Linked DNA regions of Homo sapiens: regions 1, 2 and 3 are each linked to region 4. Evidence: promoter capture Hi-C in 16 types of primary human blood cells and fetal thymus (Javierre and others, 2016). All regions are on one chromosome and are shown on one strand. Each heading gives the region's core, a stretch centred on a gene start or on the middle of the fragment in contact. The rest is flanking DNA. Distances are from core to core; before and after follow the strand shown.

The links. Contacts are between HindIII fragments. The CHiCAGO score rates a contact against its expected background, and 5 or more counts as called.
Region 1: a contact is called between a fragment that was not itself captured here and the fragment with the promoter of SFXN5 in region 4, in 2 of 17 cell types (fetal thymus and endothelial precursors). The highest score is 6.1, in fetal thymus.
Region 2: a fragment that was not itself captured here is called in contact with the fragment with the promoter of SFXN5 in region 4 in 1 of 17 cell types (total B cells); the score reaches 5.2 in total B cells.
Region 3: a fragment that was not itself captured here is called in contact with the fragment with the promoter of SFXN5 in region 4 in 1 of 17 cell types (activated CD4 T cells); the score reaches 6.2 in activated CD4 T cells.

What each region holds. Positions count from the first base shown.
Region 1 is chr2:72,921,188-72,924,200 of GRCh38, forward strand. All of the region lies in intron 1 of EMX1 (empty spiracles homeobox 1), which reads left to right. Among named protein-coding and RNA genes, the nearest start is that of EMX1, 5.2 kb to the left of the region's middle. The HindIII fragment of the contact is 1,563 bases long and covers 687-2,249 here.
Region 2 is chr2:72,817,363-72,820,468 of GRCh38, forward strand. The region is part of intron 1 of EXOC6B (exocyst complex component 6B); the gene reads right to left. Among named protein-coding and RNA genes, the nearest start is that of EXOC6B, 7.1 kb to the right of the region's middle. The HindIII fragment of the contact is 3,098 bases long and covers 1-2,882 here.
Region 3 is chr2:73,301,108-73,303,925 of GRCh38, forward strand. No RefSeq gene overlaps it. Among named protein-coding and RNA genes, the nearest start is that of EGR4, 9.0 kb to the left of the region's middle. The HindIII fragment of the contact is 241 bases long and covers 1,302-1,542 here.
Region 4 is chr2:73,070,063-73,073,121 of GRCh38, forward strand. It overlaps SFXN5 (sideroflexin 5), which reads right to left and starts at 1,650. Exons shown (of 14, transcript NM_144579.3): 1 at 1,542-1,650. The coding sequence starts at 1,643. RefSeq lists a silencer at 589-1,378 and enhancers at 1,519-1,568, 1,769-2,248. The HindIII fragment of the contact is 14,604 bases long and covers 1-3,059 here.

The sequences.
Region 1 (3,013 bases), core at 218-2,717, 150 kb before region 4:
CCAGCCATTGCCTTGAAGGGGCCCTAAAAGAGTGGCTGTAGAAAAATCGGAGGGGTAGGGAAGCAGGGAGGAGAGGGGTATTCATTTCCCTAGCTCCAGGGACGGCTATACCAGTCCCTTTCCACTTTGCTAACTGTCCTAGTCCGAAACTGACAGCCCGTTCTCACAGCCCAGAATTACTGCGTCCAAACAGGCCGCACCCTAGACCCAAGTTTGTTCTGCCCTTGTGGTCCAGGCAAGGGAAACTGAACCCCTGGTAGGGGTGGTTCAGGCCTCCTTCCCACAGGTCGGGGGGCGGGGCGGTACAGGTACCTGTGCACCTAAGGCATCACCCTTGTCTTTGCAGAAACATGTAGCAATTGATCTGTTTCTCAGGATGTTTGGTGTTGTACTAAACATCCTCTTTCTAACAGGGAAACGTCCTTATTCTTTTGGAATCAAATAACCTGTCATCACTTAGCATCTTGACTCATCCTGCAGTCTCCTGCTTCTCTGTGATAGGGTTAGAAGGACCCCTGTATTTTTGCACATGCATGTGAATATACCCTTTAGGACACATGCTGTCTACCACAACTGGACATGACAATGACCTGGGGCCATTTTCTCAGTAAGGTAGACCCAAAGCAACCTAGCATCCCCCTAAAATAACCAGACTTGAGGCAAAGGGGCATGTATGTTGGTACAGAAGCTTGTTGCCTTCATCCTCTCATCTGGGTTTATAAAGACAAACACAGAGCACTCCACCACACAGGTGACTGACATATACCACATAATTACAAAATAATCACTAAGTCAGAGACACTGGGGCAGACTGCAGACCTGCTTCCTCAGCCCCACACTGCCCTTCACACCTCTGCCTCCTATTCATACACACTTACGGGGCTTTCCACACTGCAGCCTCACTTCTGACCAACCTGGGCCAGCCCAGCATCTGAGGCCAAACCCTGCCAATGCTGGGATGAGCTAGGCTTTCTCTCTCCCTCTCTGGTTCATTTGTCCAGAGGAAACCACTGTTGGGACTTCACCCAGGTTCATAACAATGTTGTTTTTTGAAGCAAGTTATTAACATTAACAAGAAGCATTTGCTTTCCACCCACCTTTCCCTGGCCTACCTCACTGGCCCCACCCCAGAGACTTTAATCTTCCTTATTCCCCACCTGGAGCAGGCTCCATATTTTTCTGCCCTTTACTCATCTCTGCCAGACCACCTCCCCTGACCATCTGTCTATTCCACTATCCCAAGTCAAACTTCTCTTCAGTCGGACCTGAGGGCCCTAGATCTGCGCCACTTGAATAATCAAATGGGGTGTCCCTCACCCATCTCCCTGTGATGTGGTCCCACCATTTTTGTGGCTGCACAGATCCAACCAGTTGAAATTGATAAGGTGACTGGAGATTATTGACTGACCCCTTCCAGGCACTAGCCCCGCAATCCTAGCAACTCTGTTCCACAGAAAACTCCAGCAAAAACTTGGCTTCTTTAGGTAACCAAAGCCCAGAGACTTGGAGGAAGTAAGGTCAGGGAGTTTCCACCAACAGAGGGACAAGAACAGTTACCTGGAGAGTTTTAGCTACAGCATCTCAATTATCTGCTTTTGATTCACTTACATAGATGTTTCCAGAGATGGGAGATGTTAACTGAATTATCCAGGTGATTGTCTTAGAGCAAAGCAACAGGTCAAATCAAGTCCAACCAGTAGCCATCTCTGAAGAAATTAATTGGATCAGTCAATCCCAACAGCTAATTCTGTCAAAATAATCCATCTAGGGTTCCGTGTTTTTGGTGCATCAGGAGGCTGTTATGTGCCCTTACATGAGAATCCATGGGTGATTTTGTCAGGGCCTGTTATGAGTCTGTTAGCATGTGCAACCAAGCCAGAGATTGTGTGAGGGCCTAGTGGGGTGTTCATTGAGACAGGCGCTGTGGGTAGAGGCTTGTTTTGGCATTGATAGTTTCTGACCCCATCTCCCCTACCCCAGCTTCATCCAGTCCAGTGTTATCCCTTCCTCCTGCATGTGGGAGCTGAGTCCCTATGCTGGCCAACATTTGCTAAGGGACAGTCACACTCTAAAAATCCTATACAGTAGATAGGAAAAAAGACAGTAGGGAGGCTGGAACATATATTTACACACGCCCATGCAGAAACCAATATATCTATATCTATATATATTAGAGAGAAAGATGACATCTAGATATTTATACACATGTTTCTTTAGCAAGGGACTATTCAGGGATGAAGCAGGGATGAAGCTTTTCCCACCAGACAGTACTTGGAGTCTCCAGTGTGTGTGTTGGGATAGGGGGTTGGGGGCTTACCCTAGAGGCTGGGTCTCTGGACCGCCAAGGCCTGGGGGAGAGAGAGGTGGAGAAAGGGGAAGAAGGAGCCTGACTTTCCACTTCCAGGTGCTGCCTGGACCACTGACCTAGCCACTGGCCTATTTATACCCCCTGCAAGACAGAGCTAGAGCGTGCTGGCAGGAGTTTTTAATGAGTTAGTAGCCTGAGCATTCAGCCGCAAGACTAGTGCAAGCAGGTGTGAAGGGATTGCTCCTTGTGTACCTTCTAGTTCTTGAATCTGTGTTTGGCAAAGGTGTGCCTAGCACCCCGCTGCTCCCCTTATCACGTTCCTGACCCCCAGCCCTGCCTCTACCCTGGGTCCTCTTGGAGGGAGATGCTTTGCGACCAGTTAACTGAAAGCAAATCGTTGGGGCTGGCGGCCAGGGCAGCGCCCCTGGGAAAGGGCGGAGAAAGAGCGCCATGGACTTTTCTTCCCCACCCCTTGGCCTCTTCCGCTGCCCCAGGCATTGTGAATGTGGGTCCACGCCTCGTCCGGCCTGCCCCATCTCTTGGCTTAACAGAGGGATCTGGAGAGCTGTTATTCCCCGCGTTCCCCCGCGGAGTGGCTCTCGAGTGCGGGGAGGTGTTGCGGAGGGGAGTGGACTTAGGGAAGGGGCGGCAAAAGGGCAAAGGGAGAAATGGCGTGTGTGTGCGTGTCAAGGAATGGAGAGGGCA
Region 2 (3,106 bases), core at 84-2,583, 250 kb before region 4:
TGAAATTTTCATTAGTTTTATTTTCTCTCAAAAAGAAGTCATATTTTTAAGACAGTTAATCTGCAAATCAGTTAATTAATTCCCAGATAATTAACAGTTGGTGATACAATTTTTTAATTCTTCTATTCGTTCAACAAATATTTACTGAGCACCAACTATATGCCAGGCACCCTTTGGGTTCCCAGGATACAGCAGCAAACAAAAGAAACAAAATCCCTTCCCCCCTTGAACAGACATTCCAACAGGGTAGACAATCAAAAATAAAATGTCAGGCTGTAATAAGTTATTCAAAGAAAAGTAAAGTTCCTCCCTTTATTGTTCCCTATCCCAATAATTGGCATCACCATCATCTGATTGCTTAGGCCAAGAGCCTTGGAATCATCCTTGATCCTCTCTTTAATTCCCATAACTAATCCATCGTTTTGGCACTACCTTCAAAACATATTCTAAATCCAGCTACTTCTCATCACCTCCTCCCTATTACCATATTGCATGCCATAACCATCTCTTGCCTCTTATTACTGCAAACATCCCCTAACTGGTTTCCCTGTTTCCTCTCTTACTCTGTCTCCACACAGCAGCCAGAACATTCCTTGTTTGTTTGTTGTTGTTGTTGTCATTGTTTTTGAGACAGAGTCTCGCTCTGTCGCCCAGGCTGGAGTTCAGTGGTGCGATCTCCACTCACTGCAACCTCTACCTCCTGGGTTCAAGTGATTCTCCTGCCTTAGCCTCCTGAGTAGCTGGGATTACAGGTGCCCACCACCACGCCAGGCTAATTTTTGTTTTGTTTTCTTTTCTTTTGAGACGAGTCTCGCACTGTCTCCCAGGCTCGAGGGCAGTAGCGCGATCTCGGCTCACTGCAAGCTCCGCCTCCCAGGTTCACGCCATTCTCCTGCCTCAGCCTCCCAAGTAGCTGGGACTACAGGTGCCTGCCACCAGGCCCAGCTAATTTTTTTTTTTTTTTTTTTTTTTGTATTTTTAGTAGAAACGGGGTTTCACCATGTTAGCCAGGATGGTCTCGATCTCCTGACCTCGTGATCCGCCCGCCTCGGCCTCCCAAAGTTCTGGAATTACAGGCGTGAGCCACCGTGCCAGGCCATTTTTGTATTTTTAGTAGAGACACGGTTTCACCATGTTGGCCAGGCTGGTCTTGAACTCCTGGCCTCAAGTGATCTGCCCTCCTTGGCCTCCCAAAGTGCAGAGATTGCAAGCATGAGCCACTGTACCTGGCCACATTCCTTGTTTAATCTAAGTGACCACATGTCACTTTCCTGCTCAAAACTCTCCTGTACTTTCCCATAATGCTCAGAATAAAAACTCTCCTGTACCTTTCCATAACATTTAGAATAAAATCAAAGTCTCTTTCTTAGTCTACATGATCTGGACCCTGACTACTTTCTTACCACCACTTCCCACCGTTATCCTTTTCCTGAGGGCCTTGGCACTTACTGTCCCCTTTGTATGGAAGGTATTTCCCTCACAGAGAGCCATATGGCTTGTTGCTTCACTCTATTCAAACCTTTGCCAAAGCTACCTTTCCTAATCCCCTAATTGAAAGCAATAACCCAGTCATTATGTAACATTAATCGCTAAATAGCACTACATTATATATTTATTCATTTATTCTGTAAGTGCCCACTCCGGACTCTATAAGCTCAATAAGGATAGGGACTTGTCTATATTGCTGCCTGCTGTACCCCAGAGCCTGGAAGAGTATCTGGCACATAGACATTGCTCAATATTGAATGAATATATGAATGAATCAATTCATTAATAAAGCCACTAAAGTGACATCATTATAATGTATAAACCTGTATATAACATGTTAACTGAAAAAGCAAGACACATAATAATCATCTAATATTTAATATAATAACATGCATATAAAAAAGTTAAGAGGAAATATAAAAATATAAAAGTGGTGGAAAGGTAATAGAATTAAGTTATTTGTTGTTGTTTCTTCTTAAGTCATTCTATTACATTTATAATTAAAATATAAAAATGTCATTTTTAAAAGGGCACTACTATTAAAAAATAAGCATGAGCAATGGGAATGTTCTTCCCCTCAGTGATTGTCAAGGACGGAGTATATCACAATCACCTGAAGGGCTTTTATATATTTATTTCCTATCTCCTCCTCCTTTCTCTGCTCCACCCCAAAATAACCCCTCCCAGGATTGATTATTGATAAGTATTATATCCCTTAGATATGTGGGACCAGGAAAAGGAAACAAAAAAAATAGGCTAACCACTAAACTAACAAAACTCAAAAAATAGAAATACTTAAGTCCACATAGCAAACCCAAGGGTAAAGGTGGAAGATGACTCACACTTGAGTGACCAATGCCTAGCAGGTACCATGGCACCCCATCTACATTGGAGGAAGAGTATGAAAAGAAAAAAGAGAGAGAGAGAGAGAAAGCATCATTCATGCTACCTGCTAGGCAGTAGTCCTAGCTTGGTACCTTGCATTGTACCATGAAGGATGCTTTATCTTCATTTTTCTAATCACTTTTTAGATGAGAAAAAATTGCCCACTTGGGTGGTAAGTTGCTTATAAAAATAAATTGATTTAATTTATTAAAGAGAGCCATGGACCTATAATGAGAAAGTGTCACGAACCAAGGATTATGATTAACTGATCTCTGTAAAGATGAATTAATGGGAGAGGGTGCTGGATGGAAAAATAAGAGCCATGTGGTCAAAGGCACAGAAGTAGTAAGTGGATGCCACATCCCCATATTCACTTATCAAATGACCTTAAATAAAACAGCCTTTTGAAAATATCCCCCTCAATTTGTTTCTTGTTTATAAAGAGCTAGCTTTATAAACAAACAACTTAAAAAAGCAAGACAGAAAATTATTCCTACACCCATAAGTAAAGCTTTGTAATAATAAAATATATAAGGCAAAGTTCTAGAAGGAAAAGCACCAAAACAACAGCAGCTGTGTTATAGAATTGTAAGCAATTTTTAATCTAGTTTCCAAATTCCATATGTTGACATACTGTTTTAACAGTGAAAAAGGTAACTGTATCATTAATATACTTTATGTTACATAAGACTGAGTAGTATGACACAAAATAATTCCAGAAGACAATAATCAG
Region 3 (2,818 bases), core at 172-2,671, 230 kb after region 4:
ATTTGTTTCCTAGAATAATCTGGAGCCACATTTGGCTTGGCAACCAGTGGGTCCCACATGTTCATGCGGTGTGCCATGTGAAGACTTCAGCAGGGAGTTTTATTCAGTTAAGCATGAGGGGGAATGCCCTGGGGGTCACCTCCCCAGGCAGCAGCAAGTCAGGGCCTAGAATAGAACTGGTTTTATCAATGTTGTGCAGCAGGTTTCTGGTACAGGGTAGGTAGCGAAGGAAGAAAGTTCAACAGGATTTCTAAGCACCTGCTCTCACAAAGGCCAAACCGGTGATCCCTACATTTGGTAGGGACACATGGCCTGCAGGAGACATAGAGAATCTGACAATAGAGTAAAACCTCAAGCCAGGGAGTCAGAGGAACTGAGTCTGACCCAGTTCTGCCACTGGTTTGTTCTGTGACCTTGAACAAATTCGAAATACTTTCTGTGCTTGTGCATTCTCACCTGTGAAATGGGAGTATGTTACCTTCTCTACCTATAGTCTCAGGATTAAGAGTCAGAATTAACAAATTAAGTGGTGGTTGAAGCACAGGCACTTGCTACAAAAAAAAAAAAAAAAAAAAAAAAGGCGAGGTTAGAAACAATATATGCAGTTAAGAAATGATGAGTAATTCTTCCTACCCCAAATGTGTGCCCTGTGTTTTCTGGGCATCTATGTGTATGTGGGTGGAATTGGTCACTATGACATGAATTTCATGACTAGTTGTTTTCTTCCAATCCTTGCTCTCATTCATTCATTATTCATTCATCTAAATATTTGTTGAGGACTTAATACATCAGCCAGTTCAACAACTTATTACAGAAAGGTGTGATGCATGTGCCAGCGGGAGAAGGACCGGATGGTTTGAGATCATAGAAGGAAGCAGGAGGTCGTTAGCTCAACAAGATATTCAGGGAAGGCTTCCCCAAGGAAGTGACATTTGAATGGAGACTGGAAGGTTAAGTAAAAGTTAGCCAGAAAAAGGGAAAGGTTGAGTGGGGAGAATGTTCTGGGCAAAGGGGACAGCATATACAAAAGCCAGAAGGTGAGAGAAAAAAGACAAGGGAGGAGAAAAGGATTCAGGGAACTGGCGGAAGCCCATGATGGCTGGAGTGTGAGGAGGGAAAGAGGCTAGGAAGGGCAAGTGGGGTCAGGCTGGAGAAACTGGTGAGCTCAGGATCCTAGAAGACCTTTTAAGCAGGTTTAGGCATTTGGACTTTTTTTTTTTTTTCCCCCACCTATCTGATCACAAGCTTCTATGCATAGGCATTTGGACTTTTTTTTTTTTTTCCCCACCTATCTGATCACAAGCTTCTATGCATAGGCATTTGGACTTTATCCCTAGAGTAATACGATGCTATTGAAGAGATTTAAGCTGTACAGGCGATGCGATTTTTATCTTAGAATGACCAGCGTTCTAAGACCACCTTCCATGCTCTGATACAGCGTGGAAGGTGACCTGGAACGGGGATCAGTTAGGAGGCCACTGTGGCAAATCAACTGACAGTGGGCCCTCAGACGTGAACAGTGGGTGGCAACAGGAAAGGAGAAGCTTTCAGAGTCAGCAGCCATTTAGGAGCTCTTTTATAACACACACACAAGGGTGAATAGCTACCCTTGGGGCAAAAGAGAGAGGAAGGAGTCAAGGTTGACTCTTGGGTTCAGTTTTGACCATGGGTTAGTCGTTTTTTTTTTTTTCTTTTTCAAGACAGGCTCTCATGCTCTGTTGCCCAGACTGGAGTGCAGTGGCACGATCATGGCTCACTGCAGCCTCAACTTTCCCCAGCTCAGGCAATTCTCCCACCTCAGCCTCCCAAGTAGCTGGAACCACAGGCACGCACCACCACACCCCGCTAATTAAAAAATTTTTTTTTGTAAAGATGGGGCTCTCACTGTGTTGCCCCGGCTGGTCTTGAATTCCTGGGCTCAAGCAATTCTCCTGTCTCAGCCTCCCAAAGTGCTGAAATCACAGGCATGAGCCACCGTGCCTGGCCAGTGGTCATTTATTTAGGTGGAGAATCAGTAGGAGAAACAGAGTCTTCCTCTGACCCACTACGTTTTATTTATGGAGCTTTAATTTATATACAGTGAAAGGAGCAAATCTTAAGTGAATCTACCATTTGATGACTTTTTAACACAAATCAATATATAGAACATTTACATCCTCCAAAAAGTTCCCTTGTACCTTTTTCCAGTCAGTAGATACCCCCTCTTTCGGGTAACCATATTTCTCAGTATATCACTATAGATTAGTTTTGCCTACTCTTGAACTTCATATACATGGAATAATTCAGTACGTACTGTTTTGTGTCTGGCTTCTTTTGCTCAACATAATCTCTGTAAGATTTACCCACTCCATGTTTTTCATGCATCAGTATCAATTAATAAATGTTTTGTATGTATCAATCCTTTTTTCTCAGTCACTAACTTTCCATTGTTTAAATATACCAATTTGTTTATCCATTCTCCTACTGATGGAAGTAGATTGTTGTTGTTTAATTCTATGTTTGTTTTCAGGAGGTCAAAAGGAAGACAACTTAGAAATGAATGACAAGGCGATGACATAACAGTTATAAACCCTTATGACCTACTACATACCTTTAAAATATATCAATTTAAAGTGTGATTGATATATTTTATCACACTTCAAAGATGTCATTTACTTCAGCAAAAAAAACTTTAAAAAATTGAGTAATTACTAGTCATAAACTTAAGAATGTGCAATATGAATATGAAGAAAATGATAAAAATTTTTTCTGAAGGGCATTGAACAATAGACTAGGTGGGGACATATGTCTTATTGGATGGGAAGACTCAATATTATGA
Region 4 (3,059 bases), core at 400-2,899:
CCTGCGATCTGATGGGACCAGAGAAGAAGGGAGCAAGTGTTTGCCAGAGAGGCAGGCCCGACTGAGCCTTTAAGAACGAGCAGAATGGGGGTGGGAGCGGGGACAGGCAATGTAATAAGGTCACTCAAGTCCAGGCAGGGACACCCCGACACTCTCGCCCTAGATGGCCTCCTACACTGGAAGGAAGATGCCAGTCTCGCCTCGGATACCTACATGCTGAGATGGCCTACTTTTAAAAGGAATTAAAGTCCTGTTAAGAAACACTGGGGACATTTTTTTCAGACGGCTCAGGAGCCAAGTTCCCTAATTATCAGCAAAGCTCGGGGCACCCCCTTGCTGGAACCAGTCCCCTTCCACCACAACAACAAAAAAAGAAAAAAAAAGCCACCGCACCGACCTTAGCACAATTTCCTTTCTTCCTTCAAAGTTCTTTTCTGGCCGCCTCGGCTGCCGCCCACCCCTGGCAAGCCCCGGTTCACTTCAGCGGTCTCTCTGCCTGTTTCCTAATAAATTCCGTCTCATTGGTGCGGGAGGCGCGGGAGCCCGAGGGTCTGCGGCGCGGGAGCGGCCCCTCCCCGGCTCCGGTCTCCGGGCCCAACCAGGCGCCCGGGCTCCGCGTTCCACCCCCGCCTCCGCAGTCTAGGGCCGAGTCGGCGACGCCCCAGAGGAGGTCCCGGAGGGAAAGGACCCCTGTCGCCGTGCCCCGAAGAGCCTGAGCGGGTGTGCCCAGAGCCAGTCCCCGGCGGCGCGGGGGCCCGGGCGCGGGAGACCCTCCGCGGAGAACACAGCGAGGAAGAGGCTGGGGGGGGGTTCCCAGGCGGCAGCCCCTCGGAGGGACGACGGCCCCAGGGGATGACACAGCGTTTCCCCCGCACGCCCTGGCTGCGTCCCCTCAGGGCATCGGCCGGCTTGCTGCGTCAGCGAATCCTCAGCCCGAGATGGAGAGCAGGGACGGGGGACGCCGGACCGCCGCTCGCCTCGGCACTCGCCCCCTCAACCTGCTGCGCGCGCCGAGCCCGGCTTGGGGGCCAGGGCTGGGGAGTGACCGCGGGGCGCGACGCTGCCCGGCGGCACCGCCAGCAGCTCGAAAGGAACGTCAGTCCCCACCGGGGGAAAAAGTTAGAAGGCATCCCGGCCACGCCAACTTCCCATCCAGGGCCAGACTAGAACTTTGCGTCCCGGGCGGGCAGCTGCACAACCCGGAGCGACCCTGAGCAGCCGCTCGAAGCCGGGCGCTCGGGACCTTGACCGCAGCCGCCGGTGGCCAATCACAGGGCGCCGCGGGCGGGAAAGGCTAGAGGGCGCGGGCAGTCGGGGAGTGACGGCGCCAAGGGCCAATAGGAAGCCAAGATGGGAGTCCGCGCCCGCCCCGTTGACCAATGGGAAAAGGGTGACTGTGACCGAGGTTCCCCCCCTGGCGCTAGCTGCAGGCTCCGCTGGCCGCGGGTGGGAGACCCTTGGGCGGAAGGGGACTTTGGAGGGGAGTTTGCTCGTCCTCTCTTTGCCACCCGCCGGCCCGCAGACCACAGCCCGGTCCTCACCTGCTGGAAGCGGGGTTTGCCCAGTTGGAAAGGAGGTGCATCGCTCGAGGCGCTAGCGGCACTAGCCGCCGCCGCCGATGCTGTAGTCGCTGTATCCGCCATGGCCACTGACGCCCGCAATCTCCGGCCCTTTTAAAATGTCCCTCCTCGGCCCCCGCCACAGCTGCCTCTCCCGATTGGCCCTAATCAACCGCAGCGAGCGGGAGGCGCAAGGCGTTGTGGGGAGTGTAGTTTTTCGCGTCGCGGCGCTTACAACCGTAGACTGCGGAGAGTTGCGGCCGTCCGGAGAGGTCTCGGTGCCCGCTGTCCGCGTTGCAAGGTGCAAGGTCGGCAGTCCAGGAAAGGTGTTCCTGTACGACGACCACGGGCCACCCCTCGCTGCTTAGTTGCCCCCAGAAGTTAGAGTTGCTGCCGTGGGCGTCGCTCCTGGGGCCAGGCAGCGCAGAAGGGTCCCATTCAAGGGGGAACCTGGGACCAGATGGGCAAAGACTCCAGGCGGAGTAGGGTTAACCTCGGAAGGCTTTCTCCAAGGAGTTGCACTGCGGACCTTCTCGTACTTTCCTCCGTCGCCACCCTGCCCACTCGTCCTGTGCTCTCCGGCTGCCCTGACACTCAGTTCCTGGAGCATGCTGGGGCCTGCCCGCCTCCCGACCCCTGAACATTCTGTACCCGGAAGACTAAATCTTCGCCTGATGCTGGCTTTCTGGCTTTAGCCTAAACATTGCATTTCCCAGTCCATCACTCTGCTTGCACAAAATCCCACAGAGGCTCCGTGGCACCCAGCACTTCTCTTTTGCACTCACAACTACTTACTGTTCTGGACAGTCTTTCTTACTGTAAAGTTCACAGGGCAGGGGCTATGACTTTTTGATTCACTTCAGTTTTCAGAGCCAGACATAAAAGGGCTCACAGTAGAGACTCAAATAAGTGTTGGCTGTGAGTTCATCAGTGGGGGATTAAGAGCCCTGGCAGCTTTCACCTTGTCTGGCCAACCAAGGAAGATCCCTCCTGGGCCTAATTCCTGGGCAGGAGGAGAACTTGGGACTAGGGTGGGTGGGGAGGGTGTTAGGTAAGGGGGAGTATTACAGATTGTGGAGTAAGGATCAGTATGGATAATAAACACATACAGTTGTAGAATGGATTAGCTGAAGATTCCCAGCTGAATTACCTGGTCAGTGAGCCAGACTTCGGGAGCTGCCTGTTTTGCCCAAGATGACAGTAGAAATATTTGGTCTTCTAGGGAACTCCACTTTGGGTCTCATTAGTCTCGTGGTGGAGTGCAGGGTTGGCTCATGTCTGCCAGTGTTTCTGGACACTACATGAGCTGTAGCAGTCAAAGTTTTTCATCCTCTAGTAGTTGAACCACAAGAAACACTTTTCATAAAGCTAGGGGGAGATTCTAGCTAGCCACGAAGAACAATTTGTATCTTGGATTTGTATCTTATCTTAGAGATTCTATCTAGCCATGAAGAACTATTTGTATCTTGGATTTGTATCTTATCTTCCCCTGCTAGACCA